Linked DNA regions of Homo sapiens: regions 1 and 3 are each linked to region 2. The links are contacts of gene promoters, found by promoter capture Hi-C in human tissues and cell types (Jung and others, 2019). All regions are on one chromosome and are shown on one strand. The core of a region is centred on a gene start or on the middle of the fragment in contact, and the rest is flanking DNA. Distances in the headings are between cores, read along the strand shown. Region 1 overlaps ATP13A3 (ATPase 13A3). Region 2 holds the start of TMEM44 (transmembrane protein 44). Region 3 overlaps ATP13A3 (ATPase 13A3).

What was found. Contacts are between HindIII fragments. The study calls those that stand out against the background at their distance.
Region 1: a contact is called between a fragment that was not itself captured here and the fragment with the promoter of TMEM44 in region 2, in 1 of the 25 tissues and cell types used here (spleen).
Region 3: a fragment that was not itself captured here is called in contact with the fragment with the promoter of TMEM44 in region 2 in 1 of the 25 tissues and cell types used here (IMR-90 fibroblasts).

What each region holds. Positions count from the first base shown.
Region 1 is chr3:194,467,046-194,470,796 of GRCh38, reverse strand. The region is part of intron 2 of ATP13A3 (ATPase 13A3); the gene reads left to right. Among named protein-coding and RNA genes, the nearest start is that of ATP13A3, 18 kb to the left of the region's middle. The HindIII fragment of the contact is 5,781 bases long and covers 1-3,751 here.
Region 2 is chr3:194,631,992-194,635,908 of GRCh38, reverse strand. It overlaps TMEM44 (transmembrane protein 44), which reads left to right and starts at 2,490. Exons shown (of 10, transcript NM_001011655.3): 1 at 2,490-2,830. The coding sequence starts at 2,694. It overlaps TMEM44-AS2 (TMEM44 antisense RNA 2), which reads right to left and starts at 2,981. Exons shown (of 2, transcript NR_186047.1): 1 at 2,742-2,981. RefSeq lists a silencer at 2,292-2,721. The HindIII fragment of the contact is 16,299 bases long and covers 1-3,917 here.
Region 3 is chr3:194,448,786-194,452,961 of GRCh38, reverse strand. It overlaps ATP13A3 (ATPase 13A3), which reads left to right. Exons shown (of 34, transcript NM_001367549.1): 11 at 2,686-2,817. Among named protein-coding and RNA genes, the nearest start is that of ATP13A3, 36 kb to the left of the region's middle. RefSeq lists an enhancer at 2,265-3,464. The HindIII fragment of the contact is 4,181 bases long and covers 1-3,508 here.

The DNA of each region.
Region 1 (3,751 bases), core at 404-2,903, 160 kb after region 2:
TAGCAATCATAAGAGTCTTAAAATTCTTAACCTTGAATGTGGAATTTTAAAAAGTTACATACTTTTTAACAATTTAGGGGAAAGTATGAAAGTTTTAAGAACATAGTAGCTTGAATAATTGAAATAGAAAATCTCTCAGTGACGTAAGTGGACATTTTGAGAATGCAAACTGTTTTATTACATTGCATATAAATGATATTTTGCACATTTTTTTTTATAAAGAGAGAGTAAAATGCACGTATCATTTGTCAGTCCAAAGGTAATGTCCCCCTTTTTGCCAAATACTATACAATTAGACAAAACTCTGTAGGATTTCTCTGAATAAAAGGGTTGATTTTGTTTTTTAAATAGAGTATATGATAAAAGCGATAAAGTACCTATGCAAGAATTAATGGTATAGTGTAGGCTAAACTCTTCTTCATATTGATCCTAATACAGGTAATTATGTTATCTTTCCTAATTATAGCTTATTTTGTTATAGCTATCACATTGTTTTGTAACATACAAAAAAGTATAATTATACAAAGACTCCACTTTACAAATGTAAATACAGTCTTGGTTTGGTGTATATTGGATACAATGGTCTTCCTTAAGCCTAAACACAGAAACAAAAGCATATTATAAGAGAAAGTCCAAGATGGGAAGTGATAAAGTGGGTATTGAGTAGAGCTTTGTTAAAATTTAGCTGGTATCCTTGTAAAATTTCCATGTATTCATTAAATTATATTATGTCATTCTTATTTTTAGGAGCTGACTTGAAGTTTTAAGTTTTGCCCTCATAAAGAATTGTCACAATTTGGTTATTACAGTTGGATGATTCTGATTTTTTAAAAATTCTTTTTGTATATATTTGTATAGGTATTAAAATTGAAATTGTTCAATGACTAAAGTTAAGGCTTTAAACGTATTGGGGCATATTTTATTTCAACAGCAAAAAGTAGAACTGATTTTGAACTGGACAAGGTTATCTTCTCAGTTACTGTAAATTTTACAAGTTTGAGAATAAAATAATATTTAGAATGCTAGCTGTGCTGTTTATATTTCAAGATCATTAAAGCACTCTTGGCTTGTGTGGTCTTTAAAGATGGGTTTATCAAATATTTATTTAACATTGGTAGGTATGTGTAATTCTCAGAAAAAAAATCTAGGACTGCAAAACAAAGCGGGATAATTCCTTCTCTCATTCAACAATACAAGGTGTCACAGAAATCTCAGTGAAGTTTTAATTTTTAAAACTCCAGAATTATATATGTTATAAACTTAAACACCATTGAGAAATTCAGTTACTGGAATTTCTTTTATACTTATTTATTTTTGTGAGTTTTTTTTTCTTTTTTGAGACAGAGTCTCACTCTGTTCCCAGGCCGGAGTGCAGTGGTGTGATCTCTGCTCATTGCAACCCTCCGCCTCCTGGGTTCAAGCAATTCTCCTGCCTCAGCCTCTCCCTAGTAACTAGGATTACAGATATGCACCACCACACCTGCCTAATTTTTGTATTTTTAGTAGAGATGGGGTTTCACTATGTTGGCTGGACTGGTCTCAAACTCCTGGCCTCATGTGATCCTCCTGCCTTGGCCTCTCAAAGTGCTGGGATTATAGGCGTGAGCCACTGCACCCAGCTGTGAATTTTGAATGATGCGCTTTTTTTTTTTTGGTGTGTGTGTGTGATGGAGTCTTGCTCTGTCATGCTGGCTGGAGTGCAGTGGCGCAGTCTTGGCTTACTGCAACCTCCACCTCCAGGTTCAAACGATTCTCCTGCCTCAGCCTCCTAAGTAGCCAGGATTACAGGCGCATGCTACCTTGCCTGGCTCATTTTTGTATTTTTAGTAGAGATGGGGTTTCACCATGCTGACCACGCTGGTCTCAAACTCCTGACCTCAGGCATTCCACCCGCCTCGGTGAATAATGCATTTTTAATTTTAGTTTTTTACTTCAGTACTGCTGAAGATGGCAAATACTGACTGAAGGAAAAAATTAAATTAAAAATGTATTATTCAAAATTGCTTTGCCTGAACTTTTACTTGATTACAGGTCGTTATTTAAATCACTTCGTGAAATTACCTACTTTGGAATTGTAGGCACGTACATAGACTATCCTTAAAAAAATTCAACACTCTCCACACTCACTATTATAATATTGTTACAACTCTTGAGAAACTCAGGTTTGAAGCAAAGATGTCTTTGAGGTTTGGAGATTTCTGTGTCTGAAAACAACTGATCTTGTTTTAAGGAATGAAATCTGACTAACTTTTAGCATGGTATAGGATAAATAGTATACTTTAATTGTTTGTAGTAATTACATAATGTGAAAAAATAAGTAAACTTTCAAAAATTGGCATATTTAATGTAGTGAGATTTTTTTTCCCAGTAGCTTCACTTTGTCCCATACTGTTTTTTTTTTTTTTTTTTTAAACTCACACAGCAAATCAAGTTTATTATAAATTCAAGGAAGGGTTTGGTTAAGCACAATAGCCTATAAGCTCCTTGCTATTTAGATAACATCAAGACTCAGGCATGCACTGTGGAATTGGAACTTCGGTGAGCTAACTAGCTAGGATTTATTCAAATAATAGGAGCTCTACGAGTGACAGATGGCAGAAGGGCACATCTTCTGAAAACTTACTAAAAATTGGTGAATTACAAAATTCTAAATTTTAATACCTTAATCATTTTGAAAGCAGTTCAGACAGAACCGAAACAGAAATATTTGGCATAAAATTCCAAATTTTTATGCTTAGTTTTATTTTTATTATTAAAAGCCAGCTTTTGAAAGCTGTGCAAATATCAGGAATTGGGAAGAATGATGATATAGTGCTACTGGTAAGAAAAATTTCTTCAATTTGTTTTCTCTGATATCGAATTTGACTTGGTTAAAAAACGTGTGCTCCAGCAGTCCAGAAAAGTTATATTTCTGTAAGTAATGGGTTTATCAATTTGGTATTAATGCTTCAAATGTCTGATTAGATATATAGTAGAATTGTATTTAATATGTATTTTTATCTTGATAAGCAGTGTATTTTAAATATGTTTATGTGGTTTTTTATCCTCTCAGTCATTGAAATAATCAGGGCTTTTACTTATGTACATTTAAAATTTAAATATGTTTTTAACATACATATGTTCTAAATGTAAGAGCTGTTGGAGTTGTCGCATTGGAGTTGACTAAAAGTTTATGTGAAAAGTGAATTCTTGGGTAATTTCCTTTGAGGTGTATAATATATTCAAAGTGAATAATTAATTGGAGGTTTTTAGAGCAACTTTTTATTTGAATTGTTTATTTTTAGCACTTTGGTAAAATTTGCTAAGACTTAATTTGCTTTAAAAAACAACTACGTTTTAGAGAAATTACACTCATAAAAAGAGTAATGGTGTAATATGGTTAAAAAATTGTATTTTGAAAAGTATGAAAATAGATTGCTATAGGCAGTGAACTGCCTATAATAAGCTCATTTAAAAATAATTAATTGGAAGAGTTCTTTATGTGGTCTAACTGTAGAAGATGAAGTGAAAAATATTATTATGCTGAACTAAGGTGAATGAACTCCTTCTATAGATGGAGAAAAAGTTTTAAATAGTTAAAAGTACATGGGCTTAATGAAAACATTGGATTTTAACGGCAGTTCCTTTCTAAAGTTATAAAACATGCTTATTCATCTATTTATACATACATTCTACATTGAAAAATTTGGATTTACAGGAGTGGGAAGTCTGTAGGTTTGTGGGAAATTGATGAAAGACAAGGGTGAAGAAG
Region 2 (3,917 bases), core at 1,241-3,740:
AGACAGGGTTTCACCATGTTGGCCAGGCTGGTCCGGAACTCCTGACCTCAAGTGATCCACCCGCCTCAGCCTCCCAAAGTGCTGTGATTACAGGCGTGAGCTACCGCTTCCAGTACTTTTAATAGCCAAAACCACAATTACTTTTGCACCAATCTAATACCATCAAATTAGTGATTAGATTTCATTTCTCCTGAGAGGTTATAACTTTGTTTTGTTTTGAGAGACCGGGGTCTCCCTATGTTGTCTAGGCTGGTCTCCAACTCCTGGGCTCCACTGATCCTCCCACCTTGGCCTCCCAGAGTGCTGGGATTACAGGCATGAGCCACCTTACCAAGCCAAATCATAACTTTGAAAACACAGTGAACCACTAAAATAGTGTAGCCACTTTGGAAAATAGTCTGGCAATTCCTCAAAACATTAAACACAGTTACCACAGATCCCAGCAAGGACACTCCTAGGTATATACCCAAGAGAGCATGAAACCTGTGTCCACACAAAAACTTGTGCACAAATGTTCAGAGCAGCATTATTCATAATAGCCCAAAGGTGAAAGCAATCCAAACATCCCACTAATGAGTGGATAAACGAAATGTGGTATAAAAATACCCATACCATGTATTATGATGAGCCATAAACAGGAATGAAGTACTGATAACACGCAGCAACATGAATGAACCTTGAAAACATGCTAAGTGAAAGTCACAGAAAGGTCATATAGTGGATGATTCCATTGATGTGGAATGTCCAAAATGGGCAAATCCATAGAGACAGAAGGTAGATTTGCGATTCCTGGGCTGCGAGTGTTGAGGGGAGTGGACAGTAACTGCCAGTGGGCCGGGTTCTTTTCAGATGGGGGTGATGAAAATGTTCTAAAAGTAGACAGTGATGTTGGTTGCACAACGCTATGGATACACTAAAAACTGCTGAATTGTACATTTTATTTTTTGTTTTGTTTTGAGATGGAGTCTTGCTCTGTCGCCCAGGCTGGAGTGCAGTGGCGCCATCTCAGCTCACAGCAATCTCCGCCTCCCAGGTTCAAGCAGTTCTCCTGCCTCAGTCTCCCGAGTAGCTGGGATTACAGGCGCCTGCCATCATGCCTGGCTAATTTTTGTGTTTTTAGTAGAGATGGGGTTTCACCATGTTGGCCAGGGTGGTCTCAAACTCCTGACCTCAAGTGATCCACCTGCCTCGGCCTCCCAAAGTGCTGGGATTACAGGCGCGCACCACCATGCCCGGCTAATTTTTGTATTTTTAGTAGAGACAGTGTTTCACCATGTTGGCCAGGCCGGTCTTGAGCTCCTGACCTCAAGTGATCCGCCTGCCTCAGCCTCCCAAAGTGCAGGGACTACAGTTGTGAGCCACCGTGCCTGGCCAGAATTGTACATTTTAAAAGTACTATGTAGGCTGGATGTGGTGGCTCACACCTGTAATCCCAGCACTTTAAGAGGCTGAGGAGGGCAGATCACGAGGTCAGGAGTTTAAGACCAGCCTGGCCAACATGGTGAAACACCGTCTCTACTAAAAATACAAAAATTACTCGGGTGTGGTGGCGGGCACCTGTAGTCCCAGCTACTTGGGAGGCGGAGGCAGGAGAATTGCTTGAACCTGGGAGGCGGAGGCTGCAGGGAGCTGAGATCGCACCATTGCATTCCAGCCTGGGCAACAGAGTGAGACTCTGTCTCAAAAAAAAAAAAAAAAAAAAAGACTATGCTTATGGCATATAAATAATATCTAAATAAAGCTGTAGTTTTTGAAAATTAAAAAAGATTTTTTTTCTTTTTTTCAATCCTGCTCCTTCTATAGAAATATTGTTTTCAAGTCATGTCTTGCTTTAAACAAACCTACTAAAATCAATAAGGAGATTTAAAAATTACAATAATAGTTTACTCTCAAGAAAAACAGCCCTGTGTACTTGAACTGTGCGGTGTGTGGCTGGACAGGAGGCGGCCGGTTGCAGAGATAACCAGCTCTTGGCTGCGGGGCCGTGGGCTAGGATGACATCCAGGAGCAGGGCTTGGGCGACTGCCTGGGGGCGGAGGGTGCCGTTGGCAGCTTCAGAAAGGAGAGTGAGAGGCAGATGTGGGGGTATTTGTTCTCCGGCACGTTTGTTTCCTCCTTCCTGGTCTTGCACCCCACCCTTTTTACTGCGCCCTGTCGGCGATCAGGACCACGCCCCCTTCACCTCGGGATCCCAGCACCCATGCGCTTCAGCAGCGCAACTAATTGCTGTTGGCTCAGGAAATGTGGACAATACGCAGGAAGGGACGCCGTGCCTTACAGCGACCGGCAGGGACTCGGCCGTCCGCGAGCCCAGCCGCCCGCCCCGCTCCGGCCAGGATGTTGGAGGTGGGTGACCGCGAAGAGGTCGGCGGGGGGCGGGGGCCGCAGTCTTTGTGCGCGCGCAGCTCCCGGCTCCCGCCGCTGGGGGGCGGCCTCCGCCCTGCCGACCCCCGACAATAGCGCGAGGGGTGGGGAGCGCGCGGTCCCGGAAACTTTTCCCCGGCGCCTTCGCCGCCGCCGCCCGCGCCCGGGAGCGCGCCCTTCTCTGCCCGCGGTCGGTGCGCTCGGCCGGAGGCGCCGCGGCGGAACGGAACCCAGAGAAGGGCACGCGGGGCGGCGGCGCTCGGGGCTTGCCCGCGGCGAGGGAGGCTGCGCCCAGGTCCCCGGCCCCGCGCCGCGCGCCCAGCCGCGCCATGGGGGAGGCGCCCAGCCCCGCGCCCGCGCTCTGGGACTGGGACTACCTGGACCGCTGCTTCGCCCGCCACCGCGTCTGCATCTCCTTCGGCCTGTGGATCTGCGCCTCCTCCTGCTGGATCGCCGCCCACGCGCTGTAATGGGGCCACGGGTCGGGGGGCTGTCGGGCGGGGAAACGGGCGCCAATCCCCTGCTGCTCCCTCTCGGAAACCTAGAGGAGGGGGCGGAAAGGGGGATGAAGGAGATGGCTCAGTAATAGGATCCAATGGAACATTGCTCTGTAGACTGAAGTGGGATCTTCTTTCCGGATCCCACGCACAGGGAAGCTGGGCTGTGAGCCAAAGGGAGGAGGCTGGGTGGTGCAGCGGATGGGGCCCCGAGGACACCGCGAGCCCTGGGTGCTATTGTCAGCCCTTCGCCATTGACTCGCAGTGTGACCTGGGCAAGCTCCAGAACCTCTCTGGGCCTCCTATGACCGGAGATAATACCTCATAGGATGATGGGAGGATTCGATGAATCAGTACCGTTAAAGCACTTAGTAAATGCTCATTAAACATCATTTGTATTGCTCCAGCTAGGCCACCAACTCTTAGGACCTTGGCAAGTCCCTTGATGTTTCTGGCCTCAGTTTACCCAAAGTCCTCTTAGGTGGGAAGGGAGGTAGTGATATGATCCAGCTGGCCTGTCTTTGCCCTGGTCTGTCCAGCACCTGGACTGGTTTGTCCAGATGCCCACGGTAGCCTAAGTTCTAAGAGTGAATCTCCAGGTCCTCAGCCGCTCTGTCCTAGGCATGGAAATCCACTAGCAGTGCTCAGGATGGTGCCGCCCAAGCATTCCCTGGCAGGGGAGAAAGGACCAGCACCCCTGGGAGAGGTTAGAACTGTCTCCCTGTAGGCACTCAGTGGATATTCTCCTAAGGCGTTTGGTCGTATTGCAGAGATTCTGCAGCCCCACTACCCAGTACTGCAATACAAATAAAAAGACGCCTAGAACATTTACTGTAGGCCCAGTGTTGCATTCATTAACTCATTCAATGCCTGCCACTCACAATATCAGCACCAGGAGGTAGGTGCTGTTACCCCCACTTTCTGTAGGGAACCCTGAGGTTCTGAGAGGTTAAATAACTTGTCTGAGTGAAAGGAAAGAACCAAAACCCCAGATCCTATTGGAAAGGGGCAGGCTGGTAAGAGAGATTAAACTGTTCAGATCAGAGGCTGGAAACT
Region 3 (4,176 bases), core at 169-2,668, 180 kb after region 2:
TTATATAAAATTGTATTTTTCTTCTATGTAGCAGGCACTATGCTAGGCTCTGGGGATTCGGTGTAGAGATAACAGTAGTAACAGTAACAATACAGTGTGACAAATGCTATGATAAGGAGAAGTCAGCCAACTTATGTATTAGGGGAGCTCATTTACTGTAGGTATCAGGGATGACTTCTTTGATTAAGTGCTTGTAAGTGATGACTATTTGAATTAGCCAAATAAGAGGTAGGTGAGAAGTTGATAAGGGGAGGCTGAGAGAAGGAGAGAAGAGGGTTCTAAATACCCAAAGGCCTAGAAATTAGAGATTGTGTGGACATTATAAGAACTGAAAGAAGAAATTTAGTATGACAAATACAGCAACTATAAATGATGGATAGCTCTCTGAAGCATGTTAGGGATTTGGGCTCAGTCCAAAAGACAGTGGAAAGCCATTGAAGGCTATTATTATTAATTTATTTTATTTTATTTTATTTTTTCGATAGAGTCTCCTTCCCAGGCTGGAGTGCAGTGGCAATCTTGGCTCACTGCAACCTCCGCCTCCCAGGTTCAAGGAATTCTTGTGCCTCAGCCTCCTGAGTAGCCGGGATTAGAGGCATGTGCCACCACGCCCAGCCAGTTTTTTGTATTTTTAGTAGAAACAGGGTGTTACCATGTTGGCCAGGCTGGTCTCTAACTCTGGGTCTGAAGTGATCCACCCGCCTTGGCCTTCCAGAGTGCTGGGATTACAGGCGTACACACCATCACACCCAGCTAATTTTTGTGTTTTTAGTAGAAACAGTGTCAACCTTGTTGGCCAGGCTGGTTTGGTACTCCTGGCCTCAAGTGATCTGCCCGCCTTGGCCTCCCAGAGTGCTGGGATTACTGGCATGAGCCACCATGCATAGCCACCATTGAAGGGTTTTAAGCAGAGGAGTGATAAAATACTTGCCCTTTGGAAAAAAATCATTCTGGCGTCCACATTCAGACTGGTTTAGAGGAGAGTAATACTGAAGACATGCCCCCCCGAATCAAGGTAGCAATTGCGGAGATGAAAAGAAATGAGTTCAAAAGATACTTAAATGTGACCATTGAACAGGATTTGACTCATTGGATATGAGGCCATGGAGCAGTGTCTGGCTAGGTGGATGGATGTTGGTGCTGTTTAGTTAAATAGGAAACTGGAAGAGAAGCAGGCTTGCAAGAATGGTAATATTTTGGACGTGTAACTTGTCTGGCAAGATGTTGAAGAGGTAAAGGAGGCAGCACAGCATCATGGGCCTTGGAGGCAGAAGCCGCTTTGATTTACTCAGAACACCAAATCAGTCTCCATTTTCTTGACTCAGACTACACCCAAGAGATTGCTTCCTTCCCTGTGCTTCCTGGCCACTTGCTACTCTAGCTAGGAAGATCTGCCTCCCTTAGCTGAAGTCTAAGATGTGTAGCTTATTGATGCCTCTCCTCTTCTTGTTCTGCTGTTGCTGAATATAATGGGGATGCCAGGGCAGACATACCATTCAACTTGAATCTTCCTTACCCACTTTGTATAGTCTTACATGTCATTGATACCTTGTTTTCTGGTACGCCTAAAAGGAGTAGAACTTCAAGTGGTATTTAAAAGCTTTAAGAAAAGTCAAATTTTTACTTTTTTCTTCCCATCTGAGGAATGGATTTATTTTCTTTTTAAAGAAATCCAAATTTTTAAAAGAAGGGATCTTATTTTTAAAACGAAGATCGATAATATCTACTATGTACTAAATGTCATTCTTTAAAAGTTGTTCCCTCATAATTTAGTAAATTACTTCCTTTTTTAAAAAAAGGAAAGAAAGAGTGTTTGTCTTACAGGCTAACATCACAAACAATAAGTTTCTTCTCATCCATCTCCATTTATAAACTAGTGTGACTGTCTTCTGAGCACAGTATTAAACCTGGACAGGGAGAGGGAGGGTGTTAGAGAATGAGAGGAAAAGAGAGAGAATACCTACATATAAGGTGACCCTAAAGAAAAGCCTTTCACCCTTCGGAAGATCTTTTCATTTTCATTTTTCTTTTTTTCAAACACCAACTTGTACCAGAGGGAAGATCTTTTTTTAAAAGTGTTTCACTAAAATTTGTAAGGAAATAATGAGCTAGATAAAATATTACAGTGTTTATTTAATGAATTTACTCATATTTAAAATAATATCTAAAAAGAGTAATTTAGGAATATTGAGGCAATGAGACTTGAAGGTTATAAATAGTGGCAGTGAGAAAAGGAATATTATAGATAAGCTGTTGAAAAGAAAAGATGCTAAGTTTTCTAGTGCTTCCTTCTGTTTCCAAGGGATTATAGAAATCGGAGTTTGTTTGACCTGTTTCACAGGCATCTCCTTTGTGGACTCATTGTGTCTCTTCCTTAGGCTAATAGTCACCATTTATCATGGACGGTTGTCATGAGTGTTGAAGCACACTTAACCTGCTTCGTCAGAGGGTACTTGGCATCACCGGTGCACAGCTGGTGTCCTAGCAGGAGACTAACTAGCTGACACACCGTGCTTTGTTAGCCTAATAATCTTATTTGTTAAAACTTGCCATTTGTTGGATTTTTCTATTTTACCCCATTATAAACTTCTTATTGAGATCAGATGACTTCTGAATAGCATTTGCTGTATTTTTCCAAGGTAAAGAATATCTTTTTCAGATTTTTCTTTCTTTCTTTAATTTCAGAAATAGAAGAAATCTTTTCTACCGACCTTGTGCCAGGAGATGTCATGGTCATTCCATTAAATGGGACAATAATGCCTTGTGATGCTGTGCTTATTAATGGTACCTGCATTGTAAACGAAAGCATGTTAACAGGTAAGCTAAATGAGTAAATATCAACATGAGTTGTTCATGATATATCATGACTAAGTTAGTGAGTAAGCCTTTTCAAAATTAGCTATGTCATTTGTACCTTTACTCATGAATATGTTGGATATTGGAGATTTAAAATTCTGAGTAGACCGAATTCTGCATTATACTCAGCTGTAATACTAGATACTGTGCTATAGTGTTGGTCACATCTCTTGACCTCACTCTGGCTACTCTTTGGACCTTAGGAAATGGTTTAAGGTTAGGGAAGTGGAAAGGCGGCCTTTTCCCACAGAAAATGTGGCATACAGTATTTGGTTCCCCATTTGATGTGTAAAAAGTGGGAATAAAGAAAGATTTTATATTTTTCTTGAACTGAGGAGATACAGGCTTTAAAATGACTTCCCTTTGGAAATTCACAATCTTGAGGTAGAGCTTGATTTTTTTTTTGTTTTTTTTTTGTTTGTTTGTTTTGAGACAGAGCCTTGTTCTGTCACCCAGGATGGAGAGCAGTGGTGCGATCTTGGCTCACTGCAGCCTCCGCTCCCAGGTTCAAGCAGCTCTTATGCCTCAGCCTCCCGAGTAGCTGGGACTACAGGTGTGTGCCACCATGCATGGCTAATTTTTGCATTCTTAGTAGAGACGGCTTCACCACGTTGGCCAGGCTGGTCGTGAACTCCTGTCCTCAGGTGATCCATCCACCTTGGCCTCCCAAAGTGTTGGAATTACAGGCGTGAGCCACTGTGCCTGTCCAATATCTTATTTTAATCGTGTGAATTTTTTTTTTAATTGTCCTAGTTGATCTGGCTAGAAAATGATTTATATGTAATACATTTTGAAACTGTTAAGAGTCGTGTCTTAAAACACACAAACACATATCTCGTATCTTAAAACACACAAACAAATACATATCTGACACACATGCCTTCTTTGAAGCAAGAAATGTGAATGCTGCAGAGAATTAATTTTAAAAAGAATTTGGCTGTTTGTGGTTGTTTGAGAGAACCACCACATTACTCATTTTCACATCTCTTTTTTGCCCAGCTGTCTTTTCTGTTCTGTGTGTGTGTGTGTGTGTGTGTGTGTGTGTGTGTGTGTGTGTGTGTAGGGGTGGATCGGGGTAGGCCCTCACATCTCTTCTGTACAGTGCTTTCCACTGTTACCATTAGTTCTTAGAGGTGCAGGGACTATAGCAACTACTTAATCTTTTTTGAAATTATTTGAAACTGAACAATGCAACTGTTTCTAAATATAAACAAATATTACCTTTGAGCCACAAATCACTTTCTGGAATTATTGTGGGAGATAATATTTGATACTTCTATGTGAGGAAATTGGTAGACAAAAAATTAAGCCATGTTGTCC